Regions from separate parts of the Homo sapiens genome. Here regions 2, 3 and 4 are each linked to region 1. The links are contacts of gene promoters, found by promoter capture Hi-C in blood cells and fetal thymus (Javierre and others, 2016). All regions are on one chromosome and are shown on one strand. The core of a region is centred on a gene start or on the middle of the fragment in contact, and the rest is flanking DNA. Distances in the headings are between cores, read along the strand shown.

What was found. The method cuts DNA at HindIII sites, captures the fragments that hold promoters and counts their contacts. A CHiCAGO score of 5 or more calls a contact.
Region 2: a fragment that was not itself captured here is called in contact with the fragment with the promoter of AFTPH in region 1 in 1 of 17 cell types (neutrophils); the score reaches 5.7 in neutrophils.
Region 3: a contact is called between a fragment that was not itself captured here and the fragment with the promoter of AFTPH in region 1, in 16 of 17 cell types (megakaryocytes, M2 macrophages, naive CD4 T cells and 13 more). The highest score is 30.4, in megakaryocytes.
Region 4: a contact is called between a fragment that was not itself captured here and the fragment with the promoter of AFTPH in region 1, in 1 of 17 cell types (megakaryocytes). The highest score is 5.2, in megakaryocytes.

The regions. Positions count from the first base shown.
Region 1 is chr2:64,520,495-64,526,030 of GRCh38, forward strand. It overlaps AFTPH (aftiphilin), which reads left to right and starts at 3,834. Exons shown (of 10, transcript NM_203437.4): 1 at 3,834-4,118. AFTPH-DT (AFTPH divergent transcript) reads right to left here and starts at 3,661. Exons shown (of 1, transcript NR_136167.1): 1 at 1,695-3,661. MIR4434 (microRNA 4434) reads left to right here and starts at 5,019; the gene lies at 5,019-5,071. RefSeq lists enhancers at 3,391-3,610, 3,712-4,212, 4,213-4,713 and silencers at 3,811-3,970, 4,001-4,080, 4,091-4,340. The HindIII fragment of the contact is 6,179 bases long and covers 2,431-5,536 here.
Region 2 is chr2:64,754,827-64,760,362 of GRCh38, forward strand. It overlaps LOC105374777 (a long non-coding RNA gene), which reads right to left. Exons shown (of 6, transcript XR_940177.3): 6 at 2,163-2,988. Among named protein-coding and RNA genes, the nearest start is that of SERTAD2, 100 kb to the left of the region's middle. The HindIII fragment of the contact is 5,701 bases long and covers 1-5,330 here.
Region 3 is chr2:64,328,931-64,334,466 of GRCh38, forward strand. LOC105374769 (a long non-coding RNA gene) reads right to left here and starts at 3,849. Exons shown (of 3, transcript NR_187908.1): 1 at 3,703-3,849; 2 at 3,095-3,289; 3 at 1,551-1,737. The HindIII fragment of the contact is 760 bases long and covers 2,240-2,999 here.
Region 4 is chr2:64,357,381-64,362,916 of GRCh38, forward strand. No RefSeq gene overlaps it. Among named protein-coding and RNA genes, the nearest start is that of MIR4433B, 19 kb to the left of the region's middle. The HindIII fragment of the contact is 2,725 bases long and covers 1,069-3,793 here.

The DNA.
Region 1 (5,536 bases), core at 2,584-5,083:
GTTAGAACTTTATATACAGAATTTGAGCCTTTAAAAAATTTGCTGAAAAAGTTTCAGCACCTTTAGAAATAATGTAGTCAAACAGCAGTTTCTTCCCTACCTCTCCAATTTTATGGATAAAATTAATACTGTCTTAACAGGTTAAGACATATTAAATATTGAAATATTCAATATTTTCCCTGATACATTGAATATGTCCATAAAGTTCTAGATATCCAGTACTCCAGGAAGTACTATAACACCAAATTGTAATTTTTATTATTTATGCAATAAATTTGATAAGCAAATCCAAGAAAGATCAGTGGGAATGATTAAGAAACAAAATCTCTGTTGCTCATCACACTTTGGGAAAGTCGCTCATTATTATTATTATTATTATTATTATTGAGAAGGGGTCTTGCTCTGTCAGCCAGGGTGGAGTGCAGTGGCGCAATCACAACTCACTGCATTCTTGACCTCATGGGCTCAGGTGATCCTCCTACCTCAGCCTCCCGAGTAGCTGGGACTACAGGAGCATGCCACCTCACCTGGCTAATTTTTTGTAAAGATGGAGTTTCACCATGTTACCCAGGCTGGTCTTGAACTCCTGGGCTCAAGTGATCTGCCCACCTCGGCCTCCCAAAGTGCTGGGATTACAGGCGTCACCCATCATGCCCAGCCTAATAACCTATTTTTATAGAACTGTATGAAGGACATATTTCAAGAGGTAGTGGTGACATAATACCTGTAATCCCAGCGTTTTGGGAAGCCAGGGTGGGTGAATTGCTTGAGCCCAAGAGTTTGAGACCAACCTGGGCAACATAGTGAGACCCCATCTCTACAAAAAATAAAAAAATTAGCTGAGCGTGATGACATGCACCTGCAGTCCCAGCTACTTCGGAGGCTGAGGTAGGAGGATCCCTTGAGCCCAGGAGGTTGAGTCTGCAGTGAGCCGTGATGGCACCACTGCACTCCAGCCTGCGCAATGGAGGGAGAACCTGTCTCAAAAAAATAAAAATATAAATAAATAAATAAATAAATAAAATTTTAAGTAAATGTTTAGATACAGAAAGGACCTTGGCGATTATCTGGTGCATATTTCTTAAGCTGTGGTTCAAAGACCCTCTTCTGTGAATGAGCTTTAGGATGAGAAATTTGAGTGTCTGTGGATACAAGCATTTTTCTATAGAAAGAGCCAAAGCTTTTACCGTATTCTTAAAGAGATACATGTGCCAAAACATTATTTGTCCTAAGAGGGTTGAGAACCTGTGATCTGACTGTATTCTCTCATTTGTTATATAAGGAGACTGAGGTCAAGAGAGGTTGAGTAACTTATACAAAATCATAGTGACAACAGAACTGGTCATAGACCCAGGTTCTACGCATATTGCTTTTCCAGAACACCAACACATTGCTGAGGTTTTGTTCTTGCTTGTCTGTTAATTTCTTACACAATATAAAATGAATTAAACTGTTTTCACTTTTTATTCTTTCCATCTTTTTTTCCCCTCTTAATTATCATTCACTGCTGGTTGGTAAGGAGGTGGTAAAATTAGTGCACTCATATATTGCTGGTGGCATTCTAAATTAGCAGTCTCTTGGAAAATAATATGAGATGATAAATTACCAATAAAACATTCATTGCCTTTTCGCTTAGTAACTTTTATACTGAGAAAAAAAATTCTAAAATTGAACAAAGCCACACACACAAAATGTTCATCTAAGTATTATTTTATAATACTGAAAACTATCCATATAGTGGTCATTCCATTGACTACTAAGCAGCCAATTAAAATTAAGGTTTTACATTAAACGATGGGTGGAAATGCTTACAACACAAAAGGGACACAAAATCTACTTAAATTATGATTACAAGTTTGTAAAAAGTACGCACAGGAAAAAAAAACTAGAAGTAAATACAACAAATGTTAACTGGTAATTTTTTTCTTCTTCTTTTCTTGATGCCAAATCTTAGGTAATGCAGTTATGGCCATAATTTTTAAAAGGTAAATAAAAACAATACTATCATTGACTCCAAATGAAATGGACTTTATATTTCCCACAGATTTATCACCTTAAAAACACTCAAATACTTTCCCTTTGTAATAAAATGTCATGAGCATTAGGGCACTGTCTTCGGAATTACATGTAAGATTACCAATTACAAGTTAGTTGGCCAAATAGGTACTCAATTTCCCTATTACAAAATTGTAAGCTGATGGGGGGTGTGCAATTTAATTTAATTTTTTTTTAGACAGGGTTTCACTCTGTCGCGCAGGCTGGAGTGCAGTTTAAATTCATTTAGTTTAAACATGTTCTTAGTGTAGGGTCTGCTTTAAGGTCTAGTCATATGTTCTTATTTTGATATTTCTGTTTAGTAGAGCTGTAAAATGAAAACAAGCATGTGTTCGTTTAAAATCAATTTCTAGTTTCTACACACACACAAATTCAAGCTTGCACACGAGCTAAACCAGCAGGGGGCGAAATACAATAGGCATAAATTTGACAAGCCATATAGATTTTTCTTACTTTAGTGACTGAGCAATAACACAAAATCCAGCATAACCACAAAGCAATTGATACTCCCATTTAAAGTGATGCAGTCTCCGTATATCTTACAGCGATTGAATAGTAAAGAGACAAATGCGGGTCCATTGGAGCGCTCCGAGTTAATTTGTCTAGAACATTGCAGAGGCGGGATAAATCGTGATGAACTGCTATTGTCCTTATCTTTCTCCTGATTTGTATAATTCCTCCACCCAAAGGGGTGGACACTTCTCTGTGCCTGAGGGGATGTTTTCCATTCTTGTTTCTTTGCGTAACTGCTGAGCTTTGCTGTTTTGGAACTATTTTAAATTATTCAAATTACTGATGCAGACGTTTGGCAAATATGGGCAGAATGAGGGGCCGGCGGGGGTCATGATTTGTAGGACCCCGGGCTCATCATCCGAGACAGTAATCATAATCCTGTAGCCTTGTAGTCTGATTGTTACACTGGCAGGTGTTCTAACAGATATTCATTGTAAAGGAGGAGGAAAGGTAATATTTTTATTACCTTTATATAAATAACAGTTGATTATATAAATAATCAACTGTTCAGGACTGATGATGGAAACAAAATCGGTTACGACCTCTGTTCCAGAAATGCGTTTGAATGCATAAGTTTATGGTGATCTCTTTAGCTTCACTAGATATTCTCCGTAAGGGTCTATGAAAAACGACCACCTTCTCCATCCATTAGCCAAATTCCGGACTACTATTTTCTTGTCGGTCTCGAAGACGATTTGTCAGTTTGGCGGCTGCTTTCCCACCTTAAATTCTATTTATCGCAACCTCTTGTTATTTGTTAAATATCAGCTTCTTCCTCTGTCGGCATAAATTTAAAAAGAGGAAGAGACAGGCTGTGAATGAAAAAGTCGTTTTTCGGGGCGAAAAGGGCAAGCTGACGAATGCTCTCTAGTAGGTTTTTGGTAAAAATGTGGTTCTATATTTCCAAACCTTTACAATTTTATTTGGAGAGCAAGAGACTTAATCCGGTCTTGAGCTGAACGTTAACCGGCTGAAAGGAGCACCTGTCCTTCGCCAGGAGCGCAGCCTCAACCGGCGCCTGAGTGCGGGAAGACGTCTATCCCCCTACAGCTCTATGACTCGCAAGGAAGTAAAAGGAAAGGGCAGCTTGCCCGCACCCAAAATGGCGGTCGGCGCTCTGCACGACAGCGCCTGCGCAGGGATAAGCGTTCTGTGACACCAATTCCCCTGGAGTGTCCTCCCCCACCCCACAGCACCCACCAGCGCCCGGTCCCGACCTAGCCACCTGCGCCCGGAAGTGACGTGTCGGCGGCAGCGGTTCCCCCGCTGCATGATGGGAGAGTGTGTGGAGTGGGCGGGGGGTCTCCGCGGAGGAGGTGGAGGAGGCGGCGGCGGCGGCGGAAGAGGGCGGAGGGTAGTGGGATGGGGGTCCCGCGGCAGCGGTGAAACTCCGGGTGGGCGTCCATGGTGCTGCTGCGCTGACAGGGCTGTGAGCAGCCGGCCTTCCGCTCTCACCAGTTCCGCGTCGGAATAGACGGTCCTTCCCCGGGGAGTCAGTTCCTCCCCGGGCCCCTGAGCCATGCCCATCGCAGCCGCCCCGAAGGAGCCAGGTAAGCGCCGCCGCTCCGCTCCCCTAGCTGCGCCGGGGAAAGAGGGTGCGGGGACCAGGCCCGGCCCAGCAGCCAGACCCTCACCCGGGCCGGGAGCATCTGCCCGCCGCGGAGCCGGGAGCTGTGAGGACGGAGCTGGCTCTGCGGGCCTGCGGGCTCCCGGCTCTGCTCTCTTCTGCGGCGAGTGCGGGAACGCCGCTGGTGGCGCCCGAAGCGCACGGCCCCCTCCTCGCCATCCCGGGCACCGGCCGGGTAAGTGGGAGTCCTTCCCTCCCCGGCCACCGCCGGCTCTCCCTGCCCCTTTGCTTCCACCTCCCAAAGCTCCGCGCTGGCTGCGTTCTCCAGGGAGCTGTTCAGAAGTTTGGGGCTTTGCTTGGGCTTCTTCGCTCTCCTTCCCCCTCCCTCGTGACAGGTGTAAACACTGCCTCCTTCACCGAGGCCCGAGGCTGGCCGCGACCTGAGTGTGCTGCTTCCAAGGGTCTCTGAAGCAAGCGAATTTGGAATCCTCCAACAGGCAGAGGGGACAGCCCCAAAGCTCACGCATCCCTTCCTCAGAGTACCTTTTCTGCTGTCTTCTTGCACTCTTCAAGAAATTATCTGCGTCTCCTCTCCAGTTTGCGTTTGAAAAGTTGGACCATATTCCTTAAGTGCCTGGTTTGGCAGGTGCTGCGTCTTGCTTGGGGCAGAGGCAGAGTATGGAGTGAGGGGTGGTAGGGTCCTTGCTCTATTAGGAAAGTAATGGGGATAGCAAGGTTTTTTTTTCCTTGTTGCTTTGTGCAAGTTATAGCTTGGTTATACTGAATCTTTTCTGTTGGGGCCGAGGGAAGAACTGACTCATACATGTAAATTTTTTACTGGGCGGGGGGATGAAACAAAAGTAATGGTTCCGTTTCAAAGTTCTCACTTTAGGAGAAGTAAAGTAGAACTTTGGTTTTCAACTTTTCCTACAGTGTAAGTCTTCCTTCCACCTCCTATTCCGAGGATTTTATTTGGTGGAGGGGAGACACAGAGTTTATCTTTGATGCTACACTTAATTGTTGCTTTCAGTTAACCTCTTAGACATTAAAATATATGCTAAACTCTAGGGACAACAAATGTTTCAACATTATTATGTTAATATAATTAACACAGTCACGTACATTTTATATGCTTTACCAGTTTAAATGTTGGCTTTTTTAGTAGTCATTTTTAACACTTCGCAGAGGTATATTTGTTTAAACAAAGTATCTGTGGTAGTCTCCTAAATTTTGTTCATAAAGATATTTCACATGGATTAAAAGACAGATCTTGTGTAAAACATCTAGCCCAGTAAATGGCACCTAGCAGATATTCATTAGCTCTAGTTGTTCCTCCGTGGATTAAATTAGATATATCAGTTGATCTTCAAAGTACACATATATTTTTAAATCTTCAAAAAC
Region 2 (5,536 bases), core at 1,230-3,729, 230 kb after region 1:
TTCTATATAGTTTTCCTCTTGCTTATCTCTACTTTCTAATCTGTTGTGATTATGAGTTGGATGTCTTTTTTAAAATCTGAAAAACAAACAGTATGTCATAATAAAAGATTTCCTTTTTATTGTTATTTATATATTTATGATTGTAGCTGATCAGTCTCGCTCTGTCGCTCAGGCTGGAGTGCAGTGACGAGATCTCGGCTCACTGCAAGCTCCGCCTCCCGGGTTCAGGCCATTCTCCTGCCTCAGCCTCCCGAGTAGCTGGGACTACAGGTGCCTGCCACCACGCCCGGCTAATTTTTTTTTGTATTTTTAGTACAGACGGGGTTTCACTGTGTTAGCCAGGATGGTCTCGATCTCCTGACCTCGTGATCCACCCACCTCGGCCTCCCAAAGTGTTGGGATTACAGGCGTGAGCCAAGCTCCTTTTAAACAGATTTGAACATATACTACCCACATAGATCAGGAAGCAAAAGCAAATCCTCTATCAAGGATAAAGGATTCCACCCAGACCTCATAGAATTTCTACATATAAAGCCTAGGCAAACATGAGCTCACAATCCAAATTACAAAACAAATGAAGAAAAAGGCCATTGTGAGCAAAAGAAGGTTGAGGGAAAAACTTTTTTTAAACCTACACAGCCAAATTAGATTCTCAATCTGAAAAAAGAACAGATCAAGAAAAGAATAGGCCCATTTCACTTATGAACATAGATGCAAAAATTATAGGTAAAATACTAGCAAACTAAATCCAACATGCTTATTACAGTGAGCTAGGAGAAACCTTAAAACGTATTTCCCTGTCTTTAGAATGCATTTATCTGACTAGCCACCTATCTAGTCCTCTATCATGAAAACATAATAAATTAGGTAGACTTTACTCCAGAAATTCAAGTATGATTTAACATCAGAAAGTCTATCAATATAATCCATTTCAAAAGACTAAGAAAAAGCATTTGAGAGAGTATATAACTTATTAATGATAAAAACTTTTATAAGATTAGGAATAGAAGGAAATTTACTTAACCTCATAAAGGACCAAAATGTACAGCAAGTACATTACTTAATGGATTAACTTTAAACACATTCCACATAAGTTTGAGATCAAGATAATGTTGCCTCTACTATTTAATATGACGCTGAAAGTTCTGGCTAACAGAATGATATTTTTTAAAGGAGGAGGAAATAGAAGAATTAGAAGGAAGGAAACTAAATTTGGATTGTTTGCGGTAATACGATCAACCACGTAAAACATCCAATAGAAATAGCAAGCTATTAGAAATAATAAGCGTTCAGCAAGGTGACAGAGATGTTGTTCTCCCCTTCTTCCATAATACTAGGTTTTTTAGCAGGGCACAGGGCCAACCAGAATAAAAACAACATTTGCCAGCCTCCCTTGCAGCTAAGTATTGTCATGCCCCAGGCAACGGGTTGTAAGCAGAAGTAGTGCATACATCCTTAAAGGGAGAAAGTGTGCCTTCATCCTCTTTCCTGTTATCTGGAATGCAGACATAATGGCTGCAGTGTTAGCAGTCATTTTAGATCATAAGCTGACCTTGGATAGGGAAGCCACACATGGCAGAGCAACAAAACAGAAGACACCTGATATAACAGTACCAGCCCTGAGTTATCTACTCACCAAACTTCTTGAATTTCTTGAATAAACCTCTGTCTCATCATGACACTTTTATTTCAGTTTGTGTTTGTGTGTTTGCATTACCTATAGCCAAATCTAATCCCAACTGATATAGCAAGATTCCCAAATAGAAAATCAATTCATGGCCCTGCACAGTGGCAACACTTTGGGAGGCTAAGGCAGGTGGATCATCTGAGGTCAGGAGTTAGAGGCCAGCCTGGACAACATGATGAAAAACCCTGTGTCTACTAAAAATACAAAAATTAGCCTGGTGTGGTTGTGCATGCCTGAGTCCCAGCAACTCAGGAGGCTGAGGCATGAGAATTGCTTGAAGGATCAGAGGCGGAGGTTGCAGTGAGCCGAGATCACGCCACTGCACTCCAGGCTCGGCAACAAAGTGAGACTTGGTCGCCAAAAAAAAAAAAGAAAAAGAAAATCAATTCATGGAAACTGAAAGTATTCATTCACACTTACACTAACAAACTAGAAAATAAGATACTATTTATAAAAGCAACAAAACTATAAAGTATCCAGGAATTAACATATTTGAATTTATTGAAGGAATTCAAAGGAAACCCAAATAGAGGTATATATAATGTTTATGGATAAGATGATGTAACGTTATTAAGATCTCAATTATCTCTAAATGTGTTTATAAATTCAATGCAAACCAAACTTGTAGCAAGATTTGGGGAATTTAAACGTATTCTAAAATGCACATGGAAGACTAAATTTCTTTATAAGTCGGTCATTTTTTATAGTAGCAGACATACAGAACCATGAAACAGAATAGAGAACTCAGAAACAACCCATTTACATAAGAGAATCTGATATGTGATCATGGTAACACCACAAATCCATGAGGAAATCATGTTGAGTTAGTCAGCTATTGCTTGCTGCAATAATAATATTATGTAACAGATAATCCCAACTTATCAGTGGCTTATGGTAGTCATTTATTTTTCTCCCTTATGGGTCTGTATATGAACTGAGATTCAGCTCATCTCATCTGGGCTCCTTAAGACTTGGTTGGGTTCAGCTGAATTCAGCTGGACTTGGCTCCAGGATGCAGGTCAGATTCAAGTCTTCACCACATGTCTCCTTCTGGCAAGAGGTCAAGCCAAATCATTCAAATACATTTAACACCTCTCCTCTCATCATATTCACCAACATTCCATTGGCCAAACAAGTCATATGGCCAAGTTGAACATCAATAGTGGAAGGTAATGCAAAACTTCATGCCAAAAGGCACAGGTGTATAATTGTAGAGCCAGGAGAACAAGAAGGATTGGGAACAATAATCCAATCTAACACAGAGATTTGGTTTCATAGATAATGTTGGGGAAATTGATTCACTGTGAGAAAAATATAAAATTAAACCCCTATCTCATACCATATGCAAAGGTGAGCTCTACATTAGCAACAACAACAACAAAAAAAAACCTAAAAGTAAAAGGTAAAACTAATAGAAATTAAAAATAGAAGAATAGCTTTGTAATCTTAGGGTAGAAAAAAGAAGAAAAGCATTTAAACAAGACTCAAAGCATAAACTATAAAATCAAAAAAAGATGAACTTGATGACATCAAAATTTTAAACTGTTCTGTTCAACAAAAAACATCATAAACAAGTTTAGAGAAAGTTGATAGATTGGAAAGTATTTTCAAAGGCTGAAGCCAACAAAAGATTAATATCTAGAATATACAGTATTAAGAATTCCTACAAATAACTGAGAAAAAAAAGAAATGCAATAGAAAAATAGCCAAAGGATATGAACAGGCAGATTTATAGAAGGGAACCTTGAGAGACTAACAAGTAGATGAAGAGATATCCAACCTCACTTATAATCAGATAACTGTACATAAAAACACCAAAATACTTATTTACATCTATTAAATAGGCAAACGTGAAAGTTTAGTAATATCAAGTGTTGCCTAGGATAGGAAGAAATTTGAATCCTCCTGCTTTGTTATTGGGAGTTAAGTCCTGGTACAATCATTTTGGAGCATTAACTAACAATACTTAATGAAATATAGAATGTGGTAGAATGTATTTTTCCCGATGACCCAGCAGTTCCACTCCTGGGAATGTGCACCCCTAAGAAGCTCTTGCACAGGTCCTTAAGTGACCACAATTGAGGTGTTCATCACAGCAGCACTTGAGCTAGCCAGATATTGAAGGCAACCTTAGCATATACATCACCAGCACAATGGGTAAGTACGAGGTAATGGGTGCCATGGAACAACATGCAGCTGTTGGAAGTAATGCACTAAGTGTACATTTTGCAACATGGATACATTTTTTTAAATGTTTTATGAATTTTTTAAAAAAGGTAAACAGAACAAGATCACGTAAGCCCCAGGCCTTTGAATGTCTTTCCTATAGGGTACATCTCTTTGTTTTTCATTTCTGCTTTTAGCTGGGACACTTTGAGGGAAGGGTAGGGTAGGTATTGTTACAATTCACTTCTGACAAATATTTTCTTCCAGTTCTCACATGAGGTTGAGGCAGATTTTCATGCAGTCCCCAGGCCCCCATGGTTTCTACCCTCATAGCATCCACCATCACCTTCCTGCTCCCCTTTTGCATGTTTAAAAGACATTTATCGATTATATGTTTTCTTCTCAGGCTGGGTGCAAGATGAGTGATGGCTGTTGAGGAGTGGGCCACAGTCTGAGATATAGAAAACAATCCTGCTACTCTGCTATTCGTATCTGCTCACATCCCCATTTCCAAGTTAAAAACATACGAACAGATCAGGTGCGGTGGCTCACGCCTGTAATCCTAGCACTTTGGGAGGCCGAGGCGGGCAGATCACTTGAGGTCAGGAGTTTGAGACCAGCCTTGCCAACATGGTGAAACACTGTCTGCATTAAAAATACAAAAATTGGCTGGGCGCAGTGGCTCAGGCCTGTAATCCCAGCACTTTGGGAGGCTGAGGCAGGCAGATCACCTGGTCACGAGATCAGGAGATCAAGACCATCCTGGTTAACACGGTGAAGCCCCGTCTCTAATAAAAATACAAAAACAAAATTAGCCGGACGTGGTGGCAGGCACCTGTAGTCCCAGCTACTCGGGAGGCTGAGGCAGGAGAATGGCATGAACCCAGGAGACGGAGCTTGCAGTGAGCTGAGATCACGCCACTGCACTCCAGCCTGGGCAACAGAGCAAGACTCCGTCTAAAAAAAAAACACCCAAACAGTCCTGGATTTTTCAAAGTTGTAAGACTACTGATCTAAACATATATTTACTTATGTATCTTTGTACACCTCTTAATGTGCTGTCAGTTCTAATAATAACCATAAGGATAAAACAATAACAGTGATTATAATATCAACTTTGTGTCAATAAGCAAGCAGTAGGCACGAGGGCCATTTAGAGTTGAGAAGCATGAGATGAAAAAAGAGAGCCGAAGAAGATTAGGTTAAATATCAGAAATAGCTCCCTGAAATCAGGATTGATGAACAAATGGAGTTACCAAAAGGCTGGGGATACATGGGTAGTTTTCTGAAAAAAAATTTAAGGGTTTTCTAGCTAAAGACAGGGGAATGGATGAGATGGTTCTTGAAGTTTCTCCCAGCCCTGTTAGGTTATGAGCCCTCCAGTAGGCATGTTAAAAACAAAATCGTTTCCCACAAAGGTACGCTCAGAATAACGCCTGTTTGAATTATGCTGCTTTAAAAGCCAGTCTCTGCCCGAAGCTTTTCTTAAGGGCTATTACCAGTATACTAAATTCTGACCCTTAGTAATGGCTAGGATTTCATGGCCCTCAAACTCTCATATGTAGGAGCTTGCCTGAGCTCAGGTAGGGAGCTCTACAGGAAGGCCCCTGTTGTGAGGCCCAGCTGCTCATACCCTTTCCTGGTGGACTAGCAGCAGCTGCAGGCAATTCTCCAGCAAACTTT
Region 3 (5,536 bases), core at 1,370-3,869, 190 kb before region 1:
AAGCCAGGTGGAGACACCCTAAACTAGAAATGGAGCCTGAGGTTTTCAAACTGGTTTTGCCAGAGGCTGCAAGACTCTAAGCTCTGTCCTGATGTTCCCCAACAGGCATTAATTGCTCTCCCCTGAATGCATTAGCACTGCCAGACTATTACGGATGATTAGCCTCCGTGCCCAGCTACAAACGTCCATCTTTCTTAGTTGGTAGCAGAGGAAATAGCCTTTTAGGACCTTCTCCTTGCACAGGATGGATGCCGTCCTGGACCTTCCTGCTTCTGCGTTTCCCGCCACCTTTAAAGAAAGTGCATCCAGCAGTCCTGGCCACTGGGTCTTTATTGGAAAAGCTGTTTTCCAAGATGATTTAACTCTGAAAAAAAAAATGAAAAGCCCACAAGAACTGAAGACCCTGTGTGCGTGTGTGTGAGTCTGTATTAAGACCCCTTTTATAGGAGACAGACTCCTTTTGGGGAAGAGGGAGAGGTAGGGAAAGGACGAAGTGAGTAAAGGCACTCTCAGCTAAATCCTGCATGCCCATAGTTCCTTCATTGTATGGTACCTCACACCCTTACAGGGCTTTACCGAGCGCTTGTTCATCTGTTAGCTTACAGGTAAGAGAATCATTGTCCTCATTCTCTGAGTGAAGAAACTGATGCTCACAGTAGTTAAGTGACTTTGCCCAAAATTACTGAGCTGAGGAGTGACAGAATGGGGACTGAAGTCCCAGTCTCTTAATTCTGTGCTCCTCGGATACCCCCAAACCACCTCCATGGTCTTCCAGCAGCCTGAACATTTATCCATTTATGGAGGTCAGGGTGTGGGTCCCACTGCAGCCTGCTGCCCCATTTAAACTTTATTTCTGAATCTGTACATTTAAGCAAACCACTTTGTTTCAGAGGCATCCAGAGAGTAGCCTTACTTAACCTTCTTCTGGAGGTGTGTCTATTTGGTGGAGAATGGTGGAGGGGCCTGGAGGGAAGGAAAGGGAGGAGCCAGTAGGGAATTTTCACAGTTTTCCACCAGATGAGGCCAAAGCCCAGAAGTCAGACAAATCCACGATTCTCCTGGCATTCTACAGAGTTGCCAACTCCCTGCCCTGCTCTTTGCTCTCATTATTCCTCTGGGGTGGTTTCCAAGGGTGGAGAAGTGTAGGCTGAGGAAATGTCTGTGTTGAGGGAGGGCAGATGCTGTGAGGAGGGAGGTGTTTACACCAAGCATCGAGCCAGGCCTTGGAGTCACAGGGACAGGCCCAGAGCAGGAAGTGTCCTCCAAGCTAGAAGTCCTCTAGTTCAGAGGTTCTTTGTCTCCTCAAGAACCTCCTGGAACCTCCTGGACATTGTAGCATCCTCTGCAATAGCCACTACCCCTAGCAGTGCAGATGGAGTACTGTAGTGAAATGAACAAATTTTTTGGAGCTCAATAACTCTGGGTTCAAATCCCACTTCTGCTTATGAGCTGAAAGATCTTGAGTAAGTCCTGTAACCTCCCTAAAGATCAGTTGAGATTACCAATATCCACTGCCTTGGCTGTTCTGAGGTTGAAATGAATCACGTTAAACAAATAGCAAATGGTGGCTTTAATTAGTAGAGGGTTAGAGGGCAGCCAGACAGTGGCAGGACAAAAAAGGAGGGCTGCTTGTCCTGTAGGCAGTAGCAAGGAGCGGGAGTGGATTCCACAGTGAAGCAGCTTCCAAGGGCTTTTTGTAAGCAGCCCCTATGCTGGCTCTGGGAGAGCTCTGAGAAACTAGTTTGAAAAGCATAGAAGTCATAAAATAGCACCAGTATTTTTTTTCTAGTGTGAGCAAAAATATTCATGCAGACAAATCCAAGCCAATCTTCTGGGACTAAGACTCTAAATATTACTTGTGAGTCACCCCAGCTTCCTTCCAAGAGAAAGACTCCCCCATCCCCTCACCCAACACCCCCGTCCGTGACACATTAAGATTGTAGCTTTTCAGCTTCTTCCACCAAACTCTCAGTCCCTCATCGTGGGCATGAGGACAGCCCTGTGTGCAGAAAACGTGTTTCTCCATTTCGGTCTCTCTCTTGGTTAAAGCCAATTTCCAAAAAAACCAAAACCACCTTATCAGAGCAAGACCCATGTCAAGCTCCGCAGCAGGCACTAGGTGGCGCTAGATCCCATGTTATTAAGGCAACTCTAAAGCTGCGCCCTTTTCTGGAAAAATGTTTCTGTTGTGAGATCCTCTCTTTCCCAGAGACCTGAGACCACCTCAGTTTATACCACAAGCTTAAAGCGCCACCAGAAGATCGCATACTATCTCAGGAGCCCCAGCTTTGCTGCTAACCTAGTCCTTTTCAGGGTGTGGCTGTGGAAGGAGTTTCTAGACCTGAGGCTGGAGACCCCAAGTCCTTTGCTGAACTGTAAATAATATTAGGAACAAGTAGTCCATTTCAACTTCTGCTCTGCCCTGAGGCGCAGGAAGGAAAACAACTTTTTCCCTTAGGAGGAGGTGAGGAAAAAAAAGAGGCAGATCCTAGAAGCTCCTTTGTGAGAGCAGCCAAGCATCTTCCCTGCCCTCTCCCGCAGAATGGAGGCCCACCCCGACCTCAGGTCATTTCCTTCCATGGCCAGCCCCCTCTCAGGGTGAAACATGATCCTCAGTGCCCCTCTGGAGGTAAGCTGTAGGTTCTTTTTTTCTCCAGGGATCTGAGCTGAGGTTGCCCTGAAATGCCTGTTTAATTTCATTGCCGAGAGCACACCTTCTCATTATTTCGAGAGCTGTGACCCCAAAGCACTTATGAACAATAGCAGCAACTGGCAGTTATAAGCTATTTACAGTTTTCTAAGCGTTATGAGCACTCTTGATGCCTGGAGAGGCAGGTGAGTTGCATTTTCTGTTTGCAGATACAGTGACTGACACCCCAGGGTCTCATTGGAACTGCTGGCACTGATGTTGTCTCTTGGAAATGATGATGATCATTGTTGCTTATTATAATTTTCACTGTTATGTTCCCTTTGATGTGTAAGAGGCCAAACAGAACACAAGCTTTTGGTTAATGGGTTTCCTGTTGGCTGAGTCTATCTGGGCTGAATGTGGAGAACCACTGAAAGGAGGTGAATGCCCTGAGCAGACCTTTACCTTCTTGGCCATGTGAGAGTTTACTGCAGTAGGAAGCTGGGCTCCGCAGAGTAAAGGGCAGGTGTGTGGGGAAGCCTTCCTTGCCCCTTCCACCGTGTGAAGACATAGGGAGACGATGGCCATCTATGAACCAGGAGGCAGGCCCTCCCAAGGCCTGTTGCTGGCACTTTGATCTTGGACTTCCAGCCTCTAGAACTGTGAGAAAAGAGTGCCTGCTGTTTAAGCCACCCAGTCTGTGCTATTTTTGTTAGAGCAGTCCGAATGGACTAAGACAGAAATTGGCATGCCTCTGTGACGTCGCAGAGACATTTAAGCCCTCAAAGAGGCCAGCCCCCTCTCAGGGTTTTTCTGGAAAAATGTTTCTGTTGTGAGATCCTCTCTTTCCCAGAGACCTGAGACTAAATGGTGCAATATAGTTGAGGCAACACAGTATATATAAATAAAAAGAAAATGAATGACTCAGAGAAGTTCTAGCAAGAGTCCAGAAACCCAATATCCTAGCTTGGCCGTGCAGAGGTTCCCTGTAGGGCAAAGAGTGGGGAAGGAGTTGGTGGGGCTGGGAAGAGGGGGAGGAAAGGCCCTGTTAGGTGTATTCCTGTTAGGAATACCTGGTGGCCTTTGCTGGGCTTTACTTTCTGCATAAGAAGTGGTTTTCCCCAAGCTGACGTCCAGGCTCTAGATGTCCAGCTGGGGTGTAATCAAAGGCTTTGGGCACCAAGTGCCTGGCTGATGTTTTGCACCTACCGGATACTCTTAAGTCCAAAGTTGCCAGGCACTGACTGCCTTGAGCATTGTTGAGATTACCACGGAGACAGCCTGTTCCATGGCCCATGAAGTCAGAGAGAGGTCACCTAGGAACCGGTGGGCTTCACCTTCTAGCTCACATCCCCACAAGTTTCTGCTCCTCGGGTCCTCAGAGGCTTGGATGAAGTTCAGGCCCATCACCCCCACCCCATCACAAACTCTCCCCCTTCCCTTCCACCACACTTTGGGAAAGTACTTCTCTTCCCTCATATTTGCTTGAAGAGCTTTTCTTTTAAAAATAAACACAATTATCGTTTTATAGGAAATGAACATACATGTAGAAATCCAACAAAAGGATTTATAGTAAAAAATAGGTCTCCTTCCCACCCCTGTCCCCCAGCACCCAGGTTCTCTTCCAAGAGGTACCCTCTAATACTCCTTGTTGACAGAAAGAGCCAAACTCTGTAAAATATTTGCAAAGATTTATTCTGAGCCAAATATGAGTGACCATGGCCCATGACACAGCCCTCAGGAGGGCCTGAGAACATGTGCCCAAGGTGGTCAGGGCACAGCTTGGTTTTATACATTTTAGGGAGACGTGAGACTTCAATCAAATACAGTTAAGAAATACATTGGTTTGCTCCAGAAAGGTGGGACAACTTGTAGGTGGGGGAGAGGTGGGGGCTTCCAGCTTATAGGTAGATTTTAAAGTTTTCTGGTTGACAATTGGTTGAGTTTATCTAAAGACCTGGGACCAATAGAAAGGAAATGTTTAGGTTAAGATAAAGGATGGTGGTGACCAAGTTTTATTGTTCTGAAGAAGCTTTCAGCAGACTTCAGAGAGAGCAGGTTGTAAAATGTTTCTTATCCCACTTAAAAGGTTACCTGGCTCTTAGTTGAGTATCTCCTGGGTCTGGAAAGAAAGAGGAAAAAGGAGGGGAGGGGAAGGGAAATCTCCATAGAATCTCTATAGATTCTCCATAGATTTTTCCCACAAGAGACAACCTTGCCAGGCAATTTCAAGATATGGCAAGAAAATATATTTGGGGTTTAAATATTTATATTTCCTTCCTTATTTGTTATGTGATGTTATGCCAGAGCCAGGTTGGAAAGCAGACCACCTTATATAGGGGGGTTAAATAAAAATCCTTCTACGCAGTGCACGGTGGCTCACGCCTGTAATCTCAGCACTTTGGGAGGCTGAGGTGGGTGGATCACTTGAGGTCAGGGGTTCCAGACCAGCCTGGCCAACATGGTGAAACCCTGTCTCTACTAAAAATACAAAAATTAGCCAGGTGTGGTGGCACACACCTGTAATCCCAGTTACTTGGGAGGCTGAGGCACAGAATCGCTGGAACCTGGGAGGTGGAGGTTGCAGTGAGCCAAGATCACAGAACTGCACTCCAGCCTGGGCAACAGAGCGAGACTCTGTCTCAAAAAAACAAAAACAAACAAACAAAAAACCCTCTGATGAGACTGTATGGTTTGTAGGGTGTGACTCCCGAGGCCCCTTAGGTAGGAATTTGGGGAAGATAAAAAAAAAGTCAGAGTTTAGATCTCCCTCTTCTTTCCCTGCCCACCCAAGCCTCTTCTGTCCATTCTTTTCTTGTTTCCAGAATTTTGTTTTTTAACAAAATGGATCCTGTTACTCCTTATTGTCCTCAGGACATGCAAAATGCAAACTCCTTAGGCCAGAAT
Region 4 (5,536 bases), core at 1,181-3,680, 160 kb before region 1:
GACTGGCTCATACAACTCTATGTGGCTTCTCTCAGTTCAATGTCTCATGAATCTCCAAGTTTAACCCATCCAAACCAAGGGCCGATAGGCATTTCTGAGCATTTGGGAATTAAAGGAATTTATTCTTGCTGCCTTTGTTCTGGATGATGCTGCCTGCTGATAAAATCTCTCTCTCTCTGTGTGTGTGTGTGTGTGTGTGTGTGTGTGTGTGTGTGTGGCACCTGGAGTTCTATGTGTACAGTATCCTGACAGGCAGCTGTGTGTCATTTTCCCTGAGCGAATTCCTACTGAACTGCCTTTTCCTACTGGTTCTGTGATATTTTGAATCACTGCCTTCTGCACCTCAACACCAACAAACGTCCACATCCTACATATTTCCTGGAATGCTGGGAAATGCTCCCTAAATTATGATGACTGTTCTGCTGGGACTATGGGACCAGGTTATACCCTTTCAGGTAGGGATGGAAAGAAAGTTCCGCCTGAAGGAAAGAGATCATTAACCGTCATTCAATCCAGAAGAGTTGATTCTGGGCCTTAGATGTAAGCAAGACAAACCATGATCCCTCTCTGTGTTCATGGCATCAATCAAGCCTGGAGAAATTGAAGATGTCAGTAGTGGACTGGTCACTGAGTTACATGAACATAAAACAATGTTTGAAAGCTCTTTTTGCTTAAGTCAATTTACTCACGAGTCCAACCCCATCCTGGCTGTTCCCTAAGGTCCTAAACTCCTCAATCATGAATGCTTCCATTCAGGGAACACTGGGATAATAGTACACACAAGAGGAGAATGTGAAGCTCTGGCCAGAGGTTCTCAATTGTGCTACATGTTGGAATCACCTGGAGGGCTTTAAAAAATGTTGATGACTGAGACCTTACCCAGAAACTCTGATTTACTTCATCTGGGGCATGGTCTGGTCATTGATAGGTTAACAAAACCTCCCAGGTGATTCTAATACCCAGCCAAGATTGAGAGTCCTACTCTGGACTATGCTGGCACAAACTGCACAAGGTTTTTTTCTTCAACACATGCCGATTTCCAGCAGTATAATTTCAGCTTCAGAGAGAAGCTTGGGCTTGCACTCATCAGATGGCACTGCCTCATCATGTGCAGTGTAGGGCTGTGTTTCCCCTGATAGACTGTGAGTTCTTTGAGGACTGGGGCCATGTCATTGCGTCTGTTTCTCCAGTGTCTAGTACATCACAGGAGCTCAATAAATGATAGCTCAGTGAATGGATGAACATGAAGCAAGGTGAAGTAGACAGTTGCCCCAGTCCCCGTGCCCTTGAGTTCACCTTCTGAGATGCACCTGCAGTGGCATGTCAGTGTGCACTCTGCATCACAGTTCATTCTGAGCTTGTCTCCAAGTTTCCCATACAGGGCACTCCGTGTGGGATTCTTCTCCACACTCCCATTGTTCTGCTGCTGCCTCCTCCAACAAGGCAGGGAAACTCCCCACAATAGGCTGGTTTCCTATTTGTGATGGTGGGGGGACTGTCACCTCAAGGTGTTTCATCCAGCCATTCCACACCTGCTCTCCTACTGGCCTAGGAATGTGGTACCCTGAACACTGGAAGGTCTGGAACCTAATGGGTGGTTCTGAGAAAGCATTATGGATGGTTTCTCTTTGAGATGTGTCACTGGTTTGACATTGTCATCTGTCACTCTCTGAGTCTCAGGATGACATCCCTTAGATGGGGACTCTGGGGGTGGTGGCTGGAGACGCCAGCATCATTGGTGCTTTGCCTTTGTTTAGCTCAGTTCCTATTCGGAATCCTTCACAATGGGGTGTTTTAACCAGGGACTCATACATGGCTCTTGGGGAGGGAGATCCATGACCCCCTGGAGTCACATGTCAGTATTGTACAAATACACTCTATGCACATTTCTCTAAAGAGAGAGAACCCCTCAATTTTAATCAGATTCTTAAAGTTGTCCATGACCACAAAAGGTTTGACTCATCTACCTCCCACTGTCTTCCCCACAGTTTTAACTTCCCACTGTTCCTAGAAGGCCTTGAGAGGGTGAGTTCTAACATCATTCTGCCACAAAGACCTGGAATGGGGTTGTCTAGGTTAGACCAGCCTGTGCATGTAGAACAAGACTACAAATTATTTGGTTTTCTGAAAACTTGGAAGGTAAAGGGGAGTATTATTAGTGGCCATCCTTCATCTTCCAACATGGACATTGATGCCACATGCAAGTGCGTGTGCCTGAGTGTGTGTGTGCATATATGAGTGTGTGTGTCACTGGCAGGGCTTCTCACACTGAGCATGTGTGTAACATCTGACAAGCAGCTGTGTCTCATTTTTTCTCGGCTTTTCCTGGTTGACTGACCATACGTTTCCTAGGTTTTGTGATGCTTATGCAAAATGGCCAGAATGCCCTCAGAGAGCTCAGCTGCCTGCTACCAACACGCCCACTTCCTGCCCACCTTGGACTACTCACACAACCCCCTGTTTCATCCCTTTCTCCAGGGTGGATTCTGTTTATTTGCAGCAAGATGCATGCGGTGTTGCCTCCTTCTTCTCCCTGGCACTCTGAAAGCACTCTCTGAGGCTGGGCGCCACCCCTACCTGAGTGTGTCTCACTGGCAGCAGCTGTGGATGAAGGGAAGTCTTATCTTCCCTTTGGCAGAGGCAGCAGCCCATGGAGCGGGTAGCCAGTGCCGTGCACACTCAGCCCCATTCTCTGTGGCAGTGGAAAGAGTGACAAGCATGGGCTTTAAACAGGGAAGCCAGTCTGGGGACTGCTAAGGCTCTAATAAGGCAGACTCAGAGAGAGCTAGGTGACCCCGCCCAGGACTGAGTAACGTTTGAGTCAGCATGGGCTGGCCTGGAAACGCAGAGTCGAACCTGCTTGTTCTCTGACTAGCCTGAGACTTGGCTCACAGCTGTCCCAGGCAAAGCAGAACACGTGGGAGCCTTGCTCCCTGCCCTCCCTGATGGCCTGATCTCCAGCCTCCTTTCCACTGCCTTCTCCTGCCAAGCCTTATATTTCCTCCTGGAGAACATTTCTCCCTCAGGCAGGGGAGCCTCCCTCATCAGGCTGTTGGTGCTGGCATAGTAAAAAAGGCAGGATGGCACCAGGGGGCACTTGTCTCTGTGTATGTTGTGCTCTGATATCAGGGCGGTAGCTCCAGCATGAGGAATGTGGATATCCTAGGCTTTGCTGATTGAGGGGTCCTGAACCTATGGGCTTCTCTCCTTGCCCAGATTTTTCTGTGTGTAAACCCCATGCACATATGAACACCTACTTAAGTGCATATGGTACCGTATCTGGTGCCTGCCCTCAGACAGAACCAAGATATGTGTGGAAACCTTGTCTGCACACAAGAATAACGACAATTATTTGGAAACAACAGCTGACATTTATTGAGCGCAAACCATGCTGGATACCTTGCTATGCACTTAACGTGAATTATCTATTTTAATTCTCACACTACATGTGAAGTAGGTCCTCCTATTATGATATTTTACAGAGCAAAGTGAGGCTTACCAGAGTTAAGTAACTTGCTCAAGATACACAGTAAGTGGTTGAGCTGAGCATCAAATCCAAGTTCATCTCCACAGCTGCGTGCATAACAACCATCAGGAACTAACCCTGTGAGGACGTCAAGGCACTGTGAGCAGCCAGAGAGTGGTCCAAACAGCAGGTGACACAGGAATTCCGTAGAATGAAAAAGCCTGATGATAAGAGGAAGGCGAAGGAACAGAGTGGGAAGGAGAAATGTGATGATTCTGGAAAACAACACCTTGAACTTTGCCATGCAAATCTGTTGGTTCCACTTAAAGCTTGATATTGAGAAGTCTTATAGGGGATGCCCATAATGATCTCTAAACTACCCAATCTCCCCACTCTGACAGATCCTCCCTGCCACAGTTTCAGAGCCCTTTGTCATCTGCTGCCAGCCCCAGCCCACGCCGGCTGATTTCCAAGGGAGATGCTGTAGCTGCCCTTCGCGTCCACACACTCTGTCAGTGCCCCGGCCAGATCCACTCAAAACCCTCCCCACAGCCCACCCCCGCCAGCTGTGGGAGCTTTGCTGGGAACAACCTGCCCCTGTGGCTCCCTAACAGTCCTGTCCTCAAGCTAACAGAGCCACTTTCACCCTTCAGGAGCAGACAGGCTGGGAATGTATGAACCCTCGAGGCCACCTGCAGCCAATGATTGATAACCATATGACACTCAGCTCGCTTGCCTCAAGGTGGAACAAACTCTAAGGTGTCATTTCTACTCCAGAGCTCCTCAGGGGCCAGGCTGCTGCTGACTTCACCTGAGGTAGCCCCTTGCTTTCCTTTTCTGTTCCACTGTCCACATTCCCTTGCGATTTTCGTGGGAGCACAGCCTTCATAACCACATGTGCACAAACCCTTATCTCAGGGTCAGCTCCTGGAAGCAGACTTAATGTAGTGTGGCTGTGAAGTTCCACGGACATCTTCAAAGAGACTGAATTGACTTGAACTGACTATGCACCATGCCAGCCTGAGACTCTGGGGGCCTTCACTGGATCAAAGAACCACTGAAGGAAGAGGAAGCGATTCCATAGGGCAGGGAAACAGCTGGCTCTCACTGCCCCCAGGGGAAAGCCTACTACGCTCAGCGCCTTGGATGGCAGTCAGCATGAAAGGGTGAGCAGTGGTCCTCACTCCCAGAGACAGGACTGCAGCCCTCAGCCCTTGCTCATTCCTGCATCACAAGCACAGGAGAGGCTAGAATTAGTGAGGAAGGAGGAACAGAGGAGGGGGAATGCGCTGGCTCCTAAGGGTAGGTAAAAGGGGAGGGAGGACGTTTGGGGGAAGGAACAGGCTGAGTGATGAGGAGCAGGTCCTCTTGGGCCTTCTGTCCCTCAATGGAGCTAGACCTGAGGCCACAGCCTTGCAGCCCCCTCACTGACAGTCTGACCCCTCTAGTCCCCCTGAAGAGCCCTCACCCCATACCTAGGACAGCCACTGAATATGAGCCCTTTCTTCCTTCAGTTACTCCTGCTCCTTTAAACCACAGCAGACTCAGGTGAGAGTAGGTCGTGATTTCCACAGGGTTACCTCATCCAAGAGCTGTGCCCCCCAGAGCTAAAGTAAGGATGATTTCAGGAGAATACCCACAGAAAATAGGTCTCTTTCTCCATGGACATTCCATTCACTCCCTATACATATACGTGTTTCGACACACACATGCACACACACACACACACACACACTTGTATTTTCTCTTCTGTGCATTGACCTCAGTCCAGGCCTGCTGGTTAGGCAGGTGTTGTACAGCCAGACTCTGGGGTTCATGGATTTTCCTGGTTGAGTAAGAACTGACTGGCAGCCTGACAGAGCTAAGCACAAGCTCAGGTCACAGAAAAAGTGGTGGGGCTGCGAGAAGGAAAGTGAAGCACCCCAGGGCCTTGAGACCTGCCTAACAGCAATGAGCCACTCCCCTGCTTGAGTCATCTCCACTCTCTCCTCCACACCTGCACAGAAAGAGTGACCTGCTGCCTGGGGAATGCAGGTGCCTCCCTCCACAGCCTCGTCCCAGGGAAACAGC